Regions from separate parts of the Homo sapiens genome. Here region 2 is linked to region 1. Evidence: promoter capture Hi-C in human tissues and cell types (Jung and others, 2019). All regions are on one chromosome and are shown on one strand. Each heading gives the region's core, a stretch centred on a gene start or on the middle of the fragment in contact. The rest is flanking DNA. Distances are from core to core; before and after follow the strand shown. Region 1 holds the start of MNX1 (motor neuron and pancreas homeobox 1). Region 2 overlaps LOC105375607 (a long non-coding RNA gene).

Evidence for each region. Contacts are between HindIII fragments. The study calls those that stand out against the background at their distance.
Region 2: a contact is called between a fragment that was not itself captured here and the fragment with the promoter of MNX1 in region 1, in 2 of the 25 tissues and cell types used here (H1 embryonic stem cells and IMR-90 fibroblasts).

Annotation. Positions count from the first base shown.
Region 1 is chr7:157,009,302-157,016,351 of GRCh38, reverse strand. MNX1 (motor neuron and pancreas homeobox 1) reads left to right here and starts at 5,689. Exons shown (of 3, transcript NM_005515.4): 1 at 5,689-6,692. The coding sequence starts at 6,002. It overlaps MNX1-AS1 (MNX1 antisense RNA 1 (head to head)), which reads right to left and starts at 5,495. Exons shown (of 2, transcript NR_038835.1): 1 at 5,045-5,495; 2 at 1-463. RefSeq lists silencers at 5,278-5,887, 6,398-6,467, 6,478-6,527. The HindIII fragment of the contact is 12,613 bases long and covers 1,946-7,050 here.
Region 2 is chr7:157,120,606-157,127,655 of GRCh38, reverse strand. LOC105375607 (a long non-coding RNA gene) reads right to left here. Exons shown (of 5, transcript XR_928261.2): 5 at 3,647-4,444. Among named protein-coding and RNA genes, the nearest start is that of UBE3C, 15 kb to the left of the region's middle. RefSeq lists an enhancer at 1,948-2,498. The HindIII fragment of the contact is 4,704 bases long and covers 2,147-6,850 here.

The sequences.
Region 1 (7,050 bases), core at 4,440-6,939:
AGTAGTCACCATCCAGGCGCGATGGACGCCACCTTCTGTGACTCTGTCGAGTTGTATGTTGTCTGCGTTGTTCCCGGGTTGCAGAGCTGCCGGTATCTGTCAGTGTAACCCTCTCCTCCTCCCACTAGGGTGGGTGGGGGGAACAGGTGGGTTCTAAAGGAGTGCCTGGGCGCCCAGGCCAATGCTACCAGAAAGCAGTGTGGAGCCTTTGCAAAGAGTGTTGATTCCAAAACACATTTTCCGTGGAGGCTGGAGGCTGGGCTCTGGTAAAGCATGCAGGCAGTGCTCTCAGCCTCGCCATAAAGATCTCCTCTTTGCAAGACTCACGTAGCACTGTGGCCCGCAGGCTAGTGTCTATCTGGAGGGTAGTTCTGCTGCAGCATTCTGGGAAAAGTCCAGCTTATGCATGTGTTTGGTGGCTACCTTTTTTCTGCCAACAGTCTGCAGAGGGCCCTGCGTGAATCTGGAATAAAATAAAACAAAATAAAATGTTTGTAGCAAAGAGAAAAAGACTCCAGAGAAGGCTTTCATTTCTGTGGAGGGTTGTTATTCCCCCAAAACAATGAAAGGGGCTCAAAGGAGCCTCTCTTCCCTCCCAAGGTTTGTTTCTCTTTATGACACAAGAAGCTTCGAAGAGGCTGGAAAGGATTTCACCTTGTGTCAGAAGGAGACCTGGGCCAGAAGCTGAGCCCAGGGTGGCCAGGCCTGTCCCTTCCCTTCAGGGTCCAGGGAAGCTGGGAGGCTGCCCAAGGTCTGGAAGGAAGCAGAGATTTTTGTCTCTGGAGGAAATTTCCAAAAATAGAAGGCCCCTGGGTCACTGAATTTGACTAATTTAAATCCTGTGGCATCTCCCTAACTTCTCGCCAAGCCCCCCTGGTAGGGGCTGGTTGTTTGCAGCCAGGGCTGGGCTCAGAGGAGAGGGTCAAGCCAGTGACTTGGGGTGTTCTGGGGGGCTCACATTGCCAGTGCAGCCTGGGTGGTGCTGGCCATGCGAGAGGAGTCGGGGTGAGGGTGCCCTCTAAAATGGCAACAGGAAATCCAGGTTGCAGGGAGAGGCTGAGGAGGAGGGGCTGAGGGAGAAAACCCATAGAGCGGAGCACACAGCAGACCTGGGCCCACCTCAGGCCCCGCCTCGGTTTGAGGGTTTGAGCTGCAGGTCTTTGGGTTGCTAATCCTGAGCCTACCCTTTCCAGACTCCTTTAAGGCCCAGCTCCCAGGGGCCATAGAGGAGGTCAGCAGATCAAAGGACAGCATGAATGACTTGATGCCTTTGGCCCCCATTGCTCTGAAGGGGCTGGGGTTGGTGGGGGGACCTGAGCAGATGTCCCCAGCTCCGGTGAGCCTAGGCCCTCTCCACAGATTCTCCTTCCCTCTGAGCTCCAGGAAGGAGGTCGGAGCATCTCCCAGCAGTTCCTGCTCTGACCCTCTGGGCTCCCACTCCAGCCTAACTAAGCTACTTCCTGTGCCAGGGGCAAGTCCCATCTCAAACTCGTGCTTAGGTCCCTCCGGCCAGTTACACAGCATCTTCATGCCTGTTTCCTGAAGAAAGCCTTGACAGTTTACATTGAAACGGAACTGCATGAGTCCCCGAAGACCACATGGCTTCAGCAGGACAGGACTAATGTGCCTGGGCCCCTCTGCAGCCAAGTCCTCTCTGTTGGCCCTGGGCTTCAGTTTTGGAAATGCAAGATCTGCCCCCTGCTTCAGCCACCCAGTGCCCTTCCAGGCAACTGCTCCATTTCACATGGAAAAAAAGCAATATCTAAATGATAAATAAATGCATGATACCTGCCTCGCATCTTGTGAATATGTGAATGTACAGGTTTTTTCCCCAGTCCTCACGGGTTCCCAGTTGTGTGTGTAAGTCCAGATGTAAACAGACACAGACTACAACGGCGTTTTCTTTTGTGATGGTTTGTAGAAATCACCATCTCCTTCCCAAGTAGTGGAAGGAAGGGCAGCTGCAGGCACTCTTCAGTTCCTTAACAGGAGGCCTGTAGAAAGCAGGCTCCCGCGCTGGGCAGGGAGGAGCTGTGGTGGGGGCCAGCTGATTAGGGTGCACCAGGCCCTCTCTGCCTGTCTTGAGAAACCAAGAGCTCCAGGGAGAACTCTCCAGGGCTGAGTTCTGCCCCTGGGGCCGCTGGAGAGAAAACTCACCTGGAGACTCAGGTTTGGTAGCACTACTAGGATCAGACCTTTGATCTCTCTTTGTGGCCCTTCCCAAGACCCAAGCCCAGCTCCAGACTGCCCCAAAGCCAGCTGGGCTGGATCAATACAGATACTGGGAACAGGAAGAGACCCAGCAGGCTCCGCCTCACACATTGTAAACCACACAAAGATCCACACTTCCCAGATAGCTCCCTCTCTCCCCCACACCTGCCTCTCTCCATGCAGCTTTACAGAGAACCTCCTTTTTATATTAACATATTCTTAAATATAAGCAGAACATCTGATCATTTTAAGGCCCTATAGCTCCTTAGAGTCCATTTGGTCCAACCCCTGCTTCTGTAGACAAAGAAACAAATCCATCGAGATAAGGAGCTTCAGATTCCTGAAATGGCACCTCAGCCAGAGGGGCGGTCCGGACAGGACGCAGGGCTGCTAGGCTAGGCCTCCTCGGACAGCCTTGCACAGCCCCACAGGTGGTACAGACACCTGAAGGACCTGCACACGTGTTGTCCTGTCTGTGTTTTCAGGGAGGTGTCCTCAGCAGGTCTCAGGCAGAATAGAAACATGAGACAGGGTGTGAAGGGGTTTTGGACCATGGTTATTACAGAACAAAAAGGGGTGAAATTAATTCCTCTAGGAGTTAAAAAAAAAAGCCAGAAAACACCCACTGTGATTTTGTTGAAGGAGATGGCTGATGTCATGAGTCTAGACTACACACCCCATCACCAACTAAAATCACCCTGGCAGTGTGTATTTTTGGTTGGAGAGAGGAACAGCATCTTCTCCAAGGTCCATCCTGGGAGATTTCTTCTGCAGCCACTCCCTTCCCCCAGCTCCCTAAATCATTGACCTCAGGACCAAGCAATCTGCCCCCAGCAGATGGGGGTGATGAGAAGAGAAAGGCAAGTCAGCCTTGGTGCCAAACCCCTGGAGGAGGAGGCCAAGGCTGTGTTCTCTACCCTGGGGAGGCAGAGTCACAGCTAGGGCTTCCTGCCTGGGACAGGTGGCTAAGAATCTCTGGTCTCCTTTACAATCCTTCCCTCCCCAAAAAGAAACAGATGGGATGGGGACTCAGGGCTAGGTGTACCTGAAAGCTTTGAGGGCAGCAGGGTGGGAACAGTGTGGCCTCTGCAATCAGACCTGGTCCCACTCCCAGCTCTAAGGCCAAACTGTCTGCTGGGAACAAGGATCCCAAACTCTCTGAACTTGTACTCTAGAAAATGGAGATGATAGCCCGGGCACGGTCGCTCATGCCTGTAATCCCAGCACTTTGGGAGGCTGAAGTGGGTGGATCACCTGAGGTCGGGAGTTCGAGACCAGCCTGACCAACATGGTGAAACCCCATCTCTACTAAAAACACAAAAATTAGCCTGGCCTGGTGGCACATGCCTGTAATCTCAGCTATTGGGGAGGCTGAGGCAGAAGAATCGCTTGAACCTGGGAGATGGAGGTTGCAGTGAGCCATGATCATGGCATTGCACTCCAGCCCGGGCAACAAGAACAAAACTCCATCTCAAAAAAAAAAAAAAAAAGTGGGGGGCGCCTGGCGCGGTGGCTGACTCCTGTAATCCCAGCACTTTGGGAGGCCGAGGCGCGCGGATCAGGAGGTCAGGCGATCAAGACCATCCTCGCTAACACGGTGAAACCCCGTCTCTACCAAAAATACAAAAAAAAAAAAGAAAGAAAAGAAAATGGAGATACGGAGATGATAAAAATCTTCCTTCTAGTGTCATAGTGAAGATTACGGATGAGAATTGCAGAAAGCTCATAGCACATAGTAGGTGTTCAAGAAATGCGCGTGTTTCCCTCTCTCCAGTGAGAGGTAGAACTGCATTTGTGTCACCACAAAGACATCTAAAGGCACGACAAACTCCATGTGAATGCCTGGGATTTCTTTTTACCAGTGGTCGGCTCTGCAAAGCCAGATCACATTTACTCCAAGTTGCAGTTACTCATCCATTGCCATCCTCCTAACCTTCCAACCAGTCCTGTGCATCTGGGAACTACCCTGTGTTATAATGAAAACGATACCACTCATGGCAACAGAGTCACTGTCATCAACTCTCGCCTAGGTCAAAAGCCTTTTGAGGAGAAGTGGCAAGGTCTCTATATTTGCCTTTTTAAAAATCCCTCTTGTAGCAACCTGGCGTGCTAATTTTGAAGTTTACCTGGCACTGAGTTTCTCTTTGGCTCTCTCCCCTCTCCACAGCCCCTTCCGGTCCTTTATTCACCTCTCACCTGCATAGCAAGCCCTGGAACCTGGAACTCCCTCCCAGTTCTCACGCTTGCTGGGGAAGATAACTGGGTCTAATGGCGCTATTGACAAAGCCTGGTGTTGATGCCGCTTGACTTCCCGACCCCTGTGTGGATTCTTTCAGCTTCAAAAACGCCCTTGGAAGTGGTTTTACTGTAAATATTTGAAGTGTGCGTGTGGGGGAGGGGTGAGACCTGGATGCTCACTCCGTGCCTCGCTCACTCACGGGAAGCCCTTTCCTCTCCACTTCCCAGGAGGCCCCGGCAGCACGAGAGACATAGCCTTTCCCCGCTCCTGCCCGGGGACTGGCCGGGGGTCGCAGCGGCAGGGCTTCCGAAGGATGCCGGGCCCCACGGGTTTTTCAGGGCCGAGGTGTGTGGGCCTTGACTCCCGCAAGCCCATGGGCATCCCTCGGCAGCGAGGAAGAGCCTTGTCACCGAGGACCCGCTCCACTGAGCAGGCACGTGGGCGACGTCTGCAAGCCGACTTGGGTTCTGCAGGCCAGAGCGCCCAGATCTACCGTCTCCGCCTTGACTGGGGCAGGGGCTCCCAGAGAGGATTCGTGGAGGCCAAACTCACACTCACATGCGCGTTTACACCCCCACACCCCCGCACACACACCTGAAAATGCGGGGCCTTCCCATAGCAGATAAGGTTCGACCTGCAGAGCTTTGGCCACGGGGACAAAACCCTCCCCTGCTGCGCCCTGGAGGCCCGAGAGCAGGGAGGGCTTGGGAAACACCACGGTCTTCAGTGCGCTGCCGTCGCCTCGCAGAGCGGCCAGGTCTGCGCAGCGTGGGCGCTCAGGAGCGTGGAACCACCGCGCTCCGCAAGGCAGACGTGGACCCACTCCAGCGCCGACAAGGAGGCCGGAGAGGACGCGCGCAGCTGGCTCCAGGGACCAACCAAGTCCGGAGGGGCCCACGTGTCTCGGGAGCGGGTCTTGGGCCGCCGCGGGGCTCTCCAGGGGCCCGGGGGTTGCCAGTGCCCGCCGTCCGGCTCCGCACCCAGGGGAGGGCGGGCAGAGGCCCCAGGTTGAGCCTCGGAGTATCCACTCCCCGTTGGTGTCCCCGCCCGCCAGCGCCGCGCAACAGCCCGGGCTGCTTAGGACCTCGCGGCGCGGGGGCGGGGCGGCGGGCGGCCGGGACGGTGACAGGTGCGCCCCTCGGCCAATGGCGGAGCCCGCGGCCCTCCCCGGGCCCCCGCTGCGCGCGCCAATCGGAAGCCGCGCTGAGCTTCAAGTGCGCGGAGGGGCGCGGGTCCCCACCACGGCGGCAGCGGCCTCCGCGCGGTCGCCTGAGGGCTGCAGCGCAAAGAACCGGGCTCCCGGGCCCGGACGCGGGGAAGCACTCGCGTGGGAGTTTGTGCGAGCGCGGCCCGGGGCGGGGCCCGCACGGAGGAGGCGCCGGGACCATGGTCACCCTCGGCTGAGTTTCCGGCGGCGACTTTGATTATTGGCAAATAACCACCATAACAATACCGAGCCCCCGGGCTTGCACCGCACGCACTGACTCCGCGAGCCCGCACACGGCCGCGTCGCCCGCCACCGGGCCCTGAGCGCCAGCCCCAAACGAGCCGATGGAAAAATCCAAAAATTTCCGCATCGACGCCCTGCTGGCGGTGGACCCCCCACGAGCCGCCTCTGCGCAGAGCGCGCCGCTGGCCTTGGTCACGTCGCTCGCCGCCGCCGCATCTGGCACCGGAGGTGGCGGCGGCGGCGGCGGGGCGAGCGGCGGGACTAGCGGCAGCTGCAGCCCCGCGTCCTCGGAGCCGCCGGCTGCGCCCGCCGACCGCCTGCGCGCCGAGAGCCCGTCGCCGCCGCGCCTGCTGGCCGCGCACTGCGCGCTGCTGCCCAAGCCGGGCTTCCTGGGCGCGGGCGGCGGCGGCGGCGGCACGGGCGGCGGGCACGGGGGGCCCCACCACCACGCGCATCCGGGCGCAGCGGCCGCTGCCGCCGCCGCCGCCGCCGCCGCCGCCGCTGGGGGCCTGGCGCTGGGGCTGCACCCTGGGGGCGCGCAGGGCGGCGCGGGCCTCCCGGCGCAGGCGGCGCTCTACGGCCACCCGGTCTACGGCTACTCCGCGGCGGCGGCGGCGGCTGCGCTGGCGGGCCAGCACCCGGCGCTCTCCTACTCGTACCCGCAGGTGCAAGGCGCGCACCCCGCGCACCCCGCCGACCCCATCAAGCTGGGCGCCGGCACCTTCCAGCTGGACCAGTGGCTGCGCGCGTCCACCGCGGGCATGATCCTGCCTAAGATGCCCGACTTCAACTGTGAGTACCCTGCGGCCCCCGTGGATGCGCGTGGCGGGAGGGCCTCGCGCATCCTCCACCGGCACCGCCTGCCCCTCTCTGCGCTTGGCTCCCAGCGAGCGGGGGAAGAGCTGCGAAGCCGCCTCGGCTCTGCCCGGGGCCTGCGAGGACTCGCCCGGACCCCCAGGCATGAGACGGGCAGCGAATTATTAAAATGGCCATGCGCAGGCCTTGCCTTCTCTTCCTCTCTTAACGGGAAGGGGCAGTTGGAGGTGTGAGACTGAGATCTAATGATTAACCCGAAGGCTGCAGGAGAAGGAAGTCGCCGGGGGAAGGCGAGCCGAGAGCGCCCTGAATTAGGCAGGCCCGGGAATGGGGG
Region 2 (7,050 bases), core at 3,249-5,748, 110 kb before region 1:
TTGCTCTGTTGCCAGGCTAGAGTGCAGTGGCACCATCTCAGCTCATTGCAACCTCCGCCTCCCAGGTTCAAGCGATTCTCCTGTCTCAGCCTCCTGAGTAGCTGGGATTACAGGCGCCTGCCACCATGCCCAGCTAGTTTTTGTATTTTTAGTAGAGACGGGGTATTTCCATGTTGGCAGGATAGTCTCGATCTCTTGACATTGTGATCTGCCCACCTCGGCCTCCCAAAGTGCTGGGATTATAGGCATAAGCCACCACGCCCACTCCACTACCTCAATTTTAATAATGCATAGAAACCAGACAGAAGAAAGAAAGAAAGAAAGAAAGAAAGAAAGAAAGAAAGAAAGAAAGAAGAGAACATTTAAATAACAATACAATCCAACTAGACATAACACCTGTGGACACTCTGCCAGCACCAACAGAACACACATGCTTCTCCAGGGCGCACGGAGGATTCTCCAGGATGGACCACGTGCGAGGCCGTAAAGCAAGCTTCAGCACATCTGCAAAGGAGCAGGTAATTCAGAGCACGTGCTCCAAGCACGAGGGAGTGACATTAGAAATTGATGACAAGAGTCGGGCACAGCACTCACACCTATAATCCCAGCACTTTGGAAGGCCGACTTGGGAGGATCACTTGAGGCCAGGAGCTCGATGCCCGTCTGGGCTACATAGCAAGACCTCATCTCTATTAAAAAAAGTAATAAATTAGTTGGTGTAGGGGCACATGCCTGTAGTCCCAGCTACTTGGGAGGCTGAGATGGGAGGATCACTTGAGCCCAGGAGGTCAAGACTGCAGTGAGCCATGATCACGCCAGTGCACTCCAGCCTGGGCGACAGAGTAAGACTTTGTGGAGACAATTTGGGAAACTCACAAATATGTGGAAATTATACAACACACTCCTAAATAGCCAATGAGTCTAAGAAAAACAGAAACCAGAAAATACTTTGAGATGAATAAGAATCAAGACACAGTGTACCAGAGACCACAGCAGGGACCATGGCATTTAACAGGAGGGTAGATATGATTTTCCACTCACCAAAATGCAAACCCTCTGTACAGCTTAGCCAGAATCCATGCCAAAAATTCTCAGTTGCTAGTCAGGCGCAGTGGCTCACGCCTGTAATCCCAGCCCTTTGGGGGGCTGAGGTGGGTGGCTCATTTGAGGTCAGGAGTTCAAGACCTGCCTGGCCAACATGGTGAGACCCTGTCTCTACTAAAAATATGAAAATCAGCCAGATGTGGTAGCACATGCCTGTAGTCCCAGCTACTTGGGAGGCTGAGGCACAAGAATTGCTTGAGCCTGGGAGGCAGAGGTTGCAGTGAGCTGAGATCACGCCATTGTACTCCAGCCTGCAACTGTGGCCTGTGCGTCCTCTCCTGCACTCCAGAAGGTGGTATTCAAGACACAGGGGCAAGCTCAATCAGGCCTTGCTTCAGGTGCTTTTCCGGCCGATCCCAAGTTTTTGAAACCCTCCTTTCCTTTACCTGATGAGTCCCATGTCTCTGGCACTCAGAGCTCTGCCTGTGTGACCTCTCTGCCTAGGACACCAGCTCCAGTGGCTTCAGGACAGTTTCAAGTCAGTGCTGGGACATGCCTTGTCCTGCCTCACCCTGTAGAACCGCATCTGTCCGTGGATGGCGACTCCGGATGGTTCTCTCCTCACCTCACAGTGACTCCTGCCCCAGAGCCTCTGCGGGGTTTCCCGTGGGGTCACCGGGAGCCTCCCCCTGCCCACACCCCCCACCAGGCTCTCTGCCCTGACCTGACTTGTTCTGCACCTTGAGTTGAACTTCCCCAGGAGAGGTCGGGCCACGCGTCAGCAGCTGTCCCGAGGGGCCTCGGTGTGCAGCTGAGATGCCCCTCAGACTCCCCCGAGCCCGGCCCTTGCCTGCTCTGAGGTCCACGGCCCACACCCTTGCTCAGGCCTTGCCGCATAAGTCCCAGGGCACTGCAGACACAGGCAGCCTCTGCACCTGGGCCCCTCCCCTGTGAGCTGCAGTCACCCAATAAGGCCAACATGTTGTGTGGCCTCAACGTCCATCCTCGCCTCAAGCTGCGGCTGTGAACAGCCAGGTGCACTGCTGGGGATGCTCCTGCGGGGCTGGCTGTGAGACACAGGCCTCCCTGGGGCCGGCGCTCAGCTCTGAGGCCTGGGGCGGTGGCCAAAGCCCTGCCAGGGGCTCCTTCTCCAGGCATGAAATTATTCCCCAGAGGTCTGTGTCCCAGGCTCCCAGTTCTCAGCAATGAACCGATAATGCAAGTGTGGAGGGAGGGAGGGGCTGAGTCACAGGAGGAGTTTGGCAGAACAAGGGCCTGGAGGGGCAGGGGTGAGAGTGAAAGCAGGTGAAGGCCCCGCTTGGAACAGAAGAAAGACAGCGTGTCTGGGACAAGACGAGAAGGGCCAGAGCCCGACTGCCCGGAGGCACGGGGACCCAGAGGCTTCCTCCTTCCTCGGGAGGAAGGCAGGCAGCACCCCTCGTGAGTCTAGGCATTTCCATTTTCTTCTTTTTCTCATAAAGCTCTTGAAGGTTGAGGATTGTGGGGTTTTTTGCTAAAAACGGAACAGTGTCCACTATCCATCGGCCAACATGGCTGTGACTTCACAGCTACCCGGGCAGATCGCCGAGCTGTTCTTCCGTGAAACCTTGTTTACACTGTCAATTGCAGACTGAGCAATATTCAGATATTCATGCATGCCTTCAACTTCCTAACGCTTAAGACGTTTCCTAGTAGTAAAGCGTTGTTGAGACTTGGGTTCCAGCCCTTCCCTGACCCTTCCTAACTGCATGACTTTGGTGAGTCACTTAACGTCATCAACTTCATCTGCCACGTGGGCAGGATGCCCCACGAGGTGGAAGGCATAGGCCTGGCCGGGCTCCATTCTTGAGGGCTACATTTTAGTGATACAAACGCTGAATGAGCCCGGTCATTTCAGACCAGCGTTACTGACACTCAGCATCTGTACTCAAAGGGCATTTTGCTAAGTTCACAGGTTGAAAGAACTGCGATGATAAACAGTATGAAAACACCAAGTACTGATAACATGCTGCGGTTAACATTCTACTCTTCTCCGCATTATCATCACCATCATTTTAATCATTTAAAAAGGTTAGACAATTAAGCGTGTGTTTGGCAGCCCTTCAATGTGTGGGAAGTAGGAGGCCAAATTGCAAGTGCTCCTTGTCGCCTTGGACAGCTCGAAGCTGCCAGGACAGTCAAGGAGAGTTCCTCCTCGCCAAGCGCGGAGCACCCTGTGTTTTGGGAAGATACACTTACACTTCTGCTCAAGGTCATCTACGAATAATCAAGTGTCGGAACATATAAACACAGCAGTGGAAAATCAAAGCTCCTCTTTACTGAGGATTCATATTTTGTCAGGTATGACACGACATGCCATATAGACTTTTTTTTTTTTTTTTTTTTGAGATGGAGTCTCGCTCTGTCACCCAGGCTGGAGTGCAGTGGCATGATCTCCGCTCACTGCAACCTCCGCCTCCCAGGTTCAAGCGATTCTCCTGCCTCAGCCTCCCGAGTAGCTGAGATTACAGGCGCCCACCACAATGCCCAGCTAATTTTCATATTTTTAGTAGAGATGGGGGTCTCACTGTGTTGCCCAGGCTGGTCTCGAACTGCTGACCTCAAGTGATCCACCCACTTCAGCCTCCCAAAGTGCTGGGATTACAGGTGTGAGCCACTGTGCGCGGCCCCATACGGACTTTTAAACTTATGTGCGTAGAGCAGTCCTATGAGGGAAACGTTATTACCCACATTTTACAAACGTGGAAACCAAAGCTTAGAAAGAAGCACCAGGCCTGGTGTCTCCCCCAAGATGCACCACTTTGTAACCTATGGTGGCCAGGGTTTAATTTCTAGCAACACAGATGAGGCTTTGCCTCAAAGATACCCACAAAACTTATTTTGTTTACTCTGGGGAAAAAAATGCTGTAAAACAAGCTGATGTAAAGACAGTATTGCAAAGAGCACTTCACTTAAGCACTTTCTGATAGTTAAACACCTGAGCAGTGCAGGCTGCCAAAGAGTGAAGACATTTCATTTAAAATTACACTGGCGCAAGACCATCAAAGTATCCTTAACATTTTCATTAAATTGAGATACAGATCTAGTTAGAGTAGTAAATCTCTTCCGATACAAGTTCATTGAAGAGCCATGGCTAGAGGCAGCAGCGGGCCTGAAATAATCACCAGCTGCAAGGAATCCAGAAGCACCCAAGGCCTGGCGCAGAGCTCTCCATGTGCTGTTGTGAGATCTATGCAGGTGGTGCCTCCCTGTGCCCTCACCATGGTGCACACTGGAGCAGCAAGTGTCCAGGGGGCAGCAGGGAGGGGGCGGCGGGGAGGACCAGGCCAGGCATCTGTTTGTCTGTCTTCAACAGGCTTGCTTATGGTTCAGCATGGTGAGGGCAACAGATCCAGGATGGCTGCCATTGAAAAGATGGCTTGTTACTCACAGATCCTGAGAGGAGGGCAGGTCGCACCACAGGGGCCACACAGGGATGCGCCAGGGTTGGTCGGGATGCTGGGGGGTGGGGGAACCGAGCAGGAGCCTCTATTGTGGTTTCCACAATAAGGGAGGCCAAGGCAGGGTCAGCAGGCCCAGGACTGCCCAGCTTGAATAATTACAGCCCTCTGGGGCCAGGGGCTGCCCCGCGTCTGGTCCCTACCCAGGGTTGACAAGTGTGGGTGAACAGTGGCCTGGGGTGTGAGCCCACAGAGGAGGTGGCAGGTGTGGGCTCTGCATTGCAGGGTTTGCACATGGAAAGCCTGCGTGGGGTGGGCAAGTGTTCGCTATCCAGGAACTGGCTGTTTGTGGGAGAGGCAGCCTCCCAGGGTCAACAGGCCCCAGGTGTCAGAGCATCAGATACAGAAAATAAACAACATAGTTACTACAGCATCAAAGGACCAAGGTTCAAATCTCAGGTACTGCCTGTATGAGCAAGTCAGGCCACCTCTGAGGTCTGTCTGCTCGTGTGTAACTCAGAGATGATCACACCAACCATTTGATTAGACAATTTGTTTTTCTAAATGTAGCTTAGTACTTGGCACATTATAGTTATTGTTAAATATTAGCCAATTAAATCTTATGGCATTTAAAATACTAGTTACAATCTCTTATCCAACATAGTTTGGACTAGAAGTTTCAGATTTTTATTTTTTCGGATTTTGGAATATTTGTAATAATGAGATATCTTGAGGGTGGGACCCAAATCTAAACACAAAATTCATTTATGTTTCATATACACCTTACACACATAGCTGAAGATAACTCGATGCAATACATAAACATAATTTTGTGCAGAACACAAAGTTTGCATTTTGACTGTGACCCATCACGTGAGGGCATGCATGAGATTCTCCCCTTGTGGCATCACGTTGGTGCTCAAAACGTTCTGAATTTTGGAGCTTTTCAGATTTGGGATTTTTGGATTAGGGATGCTCAGCCTGTATATGCACAGCTTCTCTGGCACTCTCTTCAAACGATGGAGCCTGGGCTGGGCGCAGTGGCTCATGCCTGTAATCCCAGCACTTTGAGTGGCCGAGGTGGGTGGATCACCTGAGGTCAGGAGTTCAAGACCAGCCTGGCCGACATGGTGAAACCCTGTCTCTACTAAAAATACAAAAATTAGCCAGGCTTGGTGTCAGGCACCTGTAATCCCAGCTACTTAGGAGGCTGAGGCAGGAGAATCACTCGAACCTAGGAGGTGGAGGGTGCAGTGAGCCAAGATCATGGCACTGCACTCCAGCCTGGGCGACACAGTGAGACTCAGTCTCAAAAACAAAGAAACAAAAGATGGATCCTGAAGCCAGGTGCCATGGCTTATACCTGTAGACTCAGCTACGTGGGCTGAGATGGGAGGCATCCAAAAGTCCAAGATCGGCCTGGACAACATGGCCAGACCCCATCTCAAAAAAAAAAAAAAAAAAAAAAAAAGATGGCGCCTATGCCCCTCCCCTGGAGCACAGGTTGGATTTAGCTGCTCTTTTCTGCTGAGTAGAAGAAACCTGGACTCCGCAGTGTGGGCCTCGGAGACACATTCACGCGAGGCACTCAGCTTCCTGTGTGCTCCCTCTCTTGGGTCATGCACCCTGGAGAACGCAAACACCACACAGGGAGCATACTCAGGCAGTGCACAGAGGGCCCCACGCGGCACAGAGCCGAGGCCTCCAGCTCCAACCCCCACAACGGGGCCATCCTGAGGTGGGCCCACCTGCCTCCGTTGAGCCTTTGGCAAATGCAGCCACAGCCGGCCTCTTGACTGCAGCCTCGCCAGAGGCCCTGAGAGAGAAGCACCCAGCGAAGCCATCCCCAAGCCCCTGGCCCGCGGCAGCCCCTGGCCCGCAGCAGCTGGGCACCAAATGTGTTTTGCTTTTGGGCCACCAAGTGCTGGGTAGTTGGTTGTGCAGCAGGGCCAGCGGGTCTAACCTCAGGAAAATCTCCAAGCTGGGCTCTGCCAGTACCATTTGCAGTGCTTAGGCCTGCATAGACAATCTCTAGAGAAGTTTCCAGAACCACTTTCTAGTCAGTTCCAGAGATTTCCAGACAGAGGTGCAGGGGAGTTAGAATCCTGCCCATCTGTGCTGTGCTCACCTGGATTGAAATGGCCGGTGGCTAAGAAGCTGGTGGAGGTGGCCACAGAGCCCTCTCGACCGCTGGGTCTGGGCGAGACGCACTTTTGCCTCCACACCTTACCCTGTGTCCCGCTGAACTATCTTGGAAGCCACATCGGGTGCTCAATGACACACATTTAAAGAACTGTTTAGTTATGAAAATCTCTTTTATGTCACCATGGCTTTAGTCCTAGTCGGTAGACACCTTCACTAGGAAGGCCGGCACGGTCATTGTGAACATGCAGCTTCCTCAAACTGCCGTTACAGAAACAAGGACCATGGATTTTACTTTCAAATTATCACCAGATCTCAACCGTTTTTCACATAAAGATCTTCCATTTCACTTAAAGCCTCAACCGTTTGTTATTAAAATGTACCTTCCTCTTCCTCTCCCTTGCCTTGCCTGTGATGCTTTTCC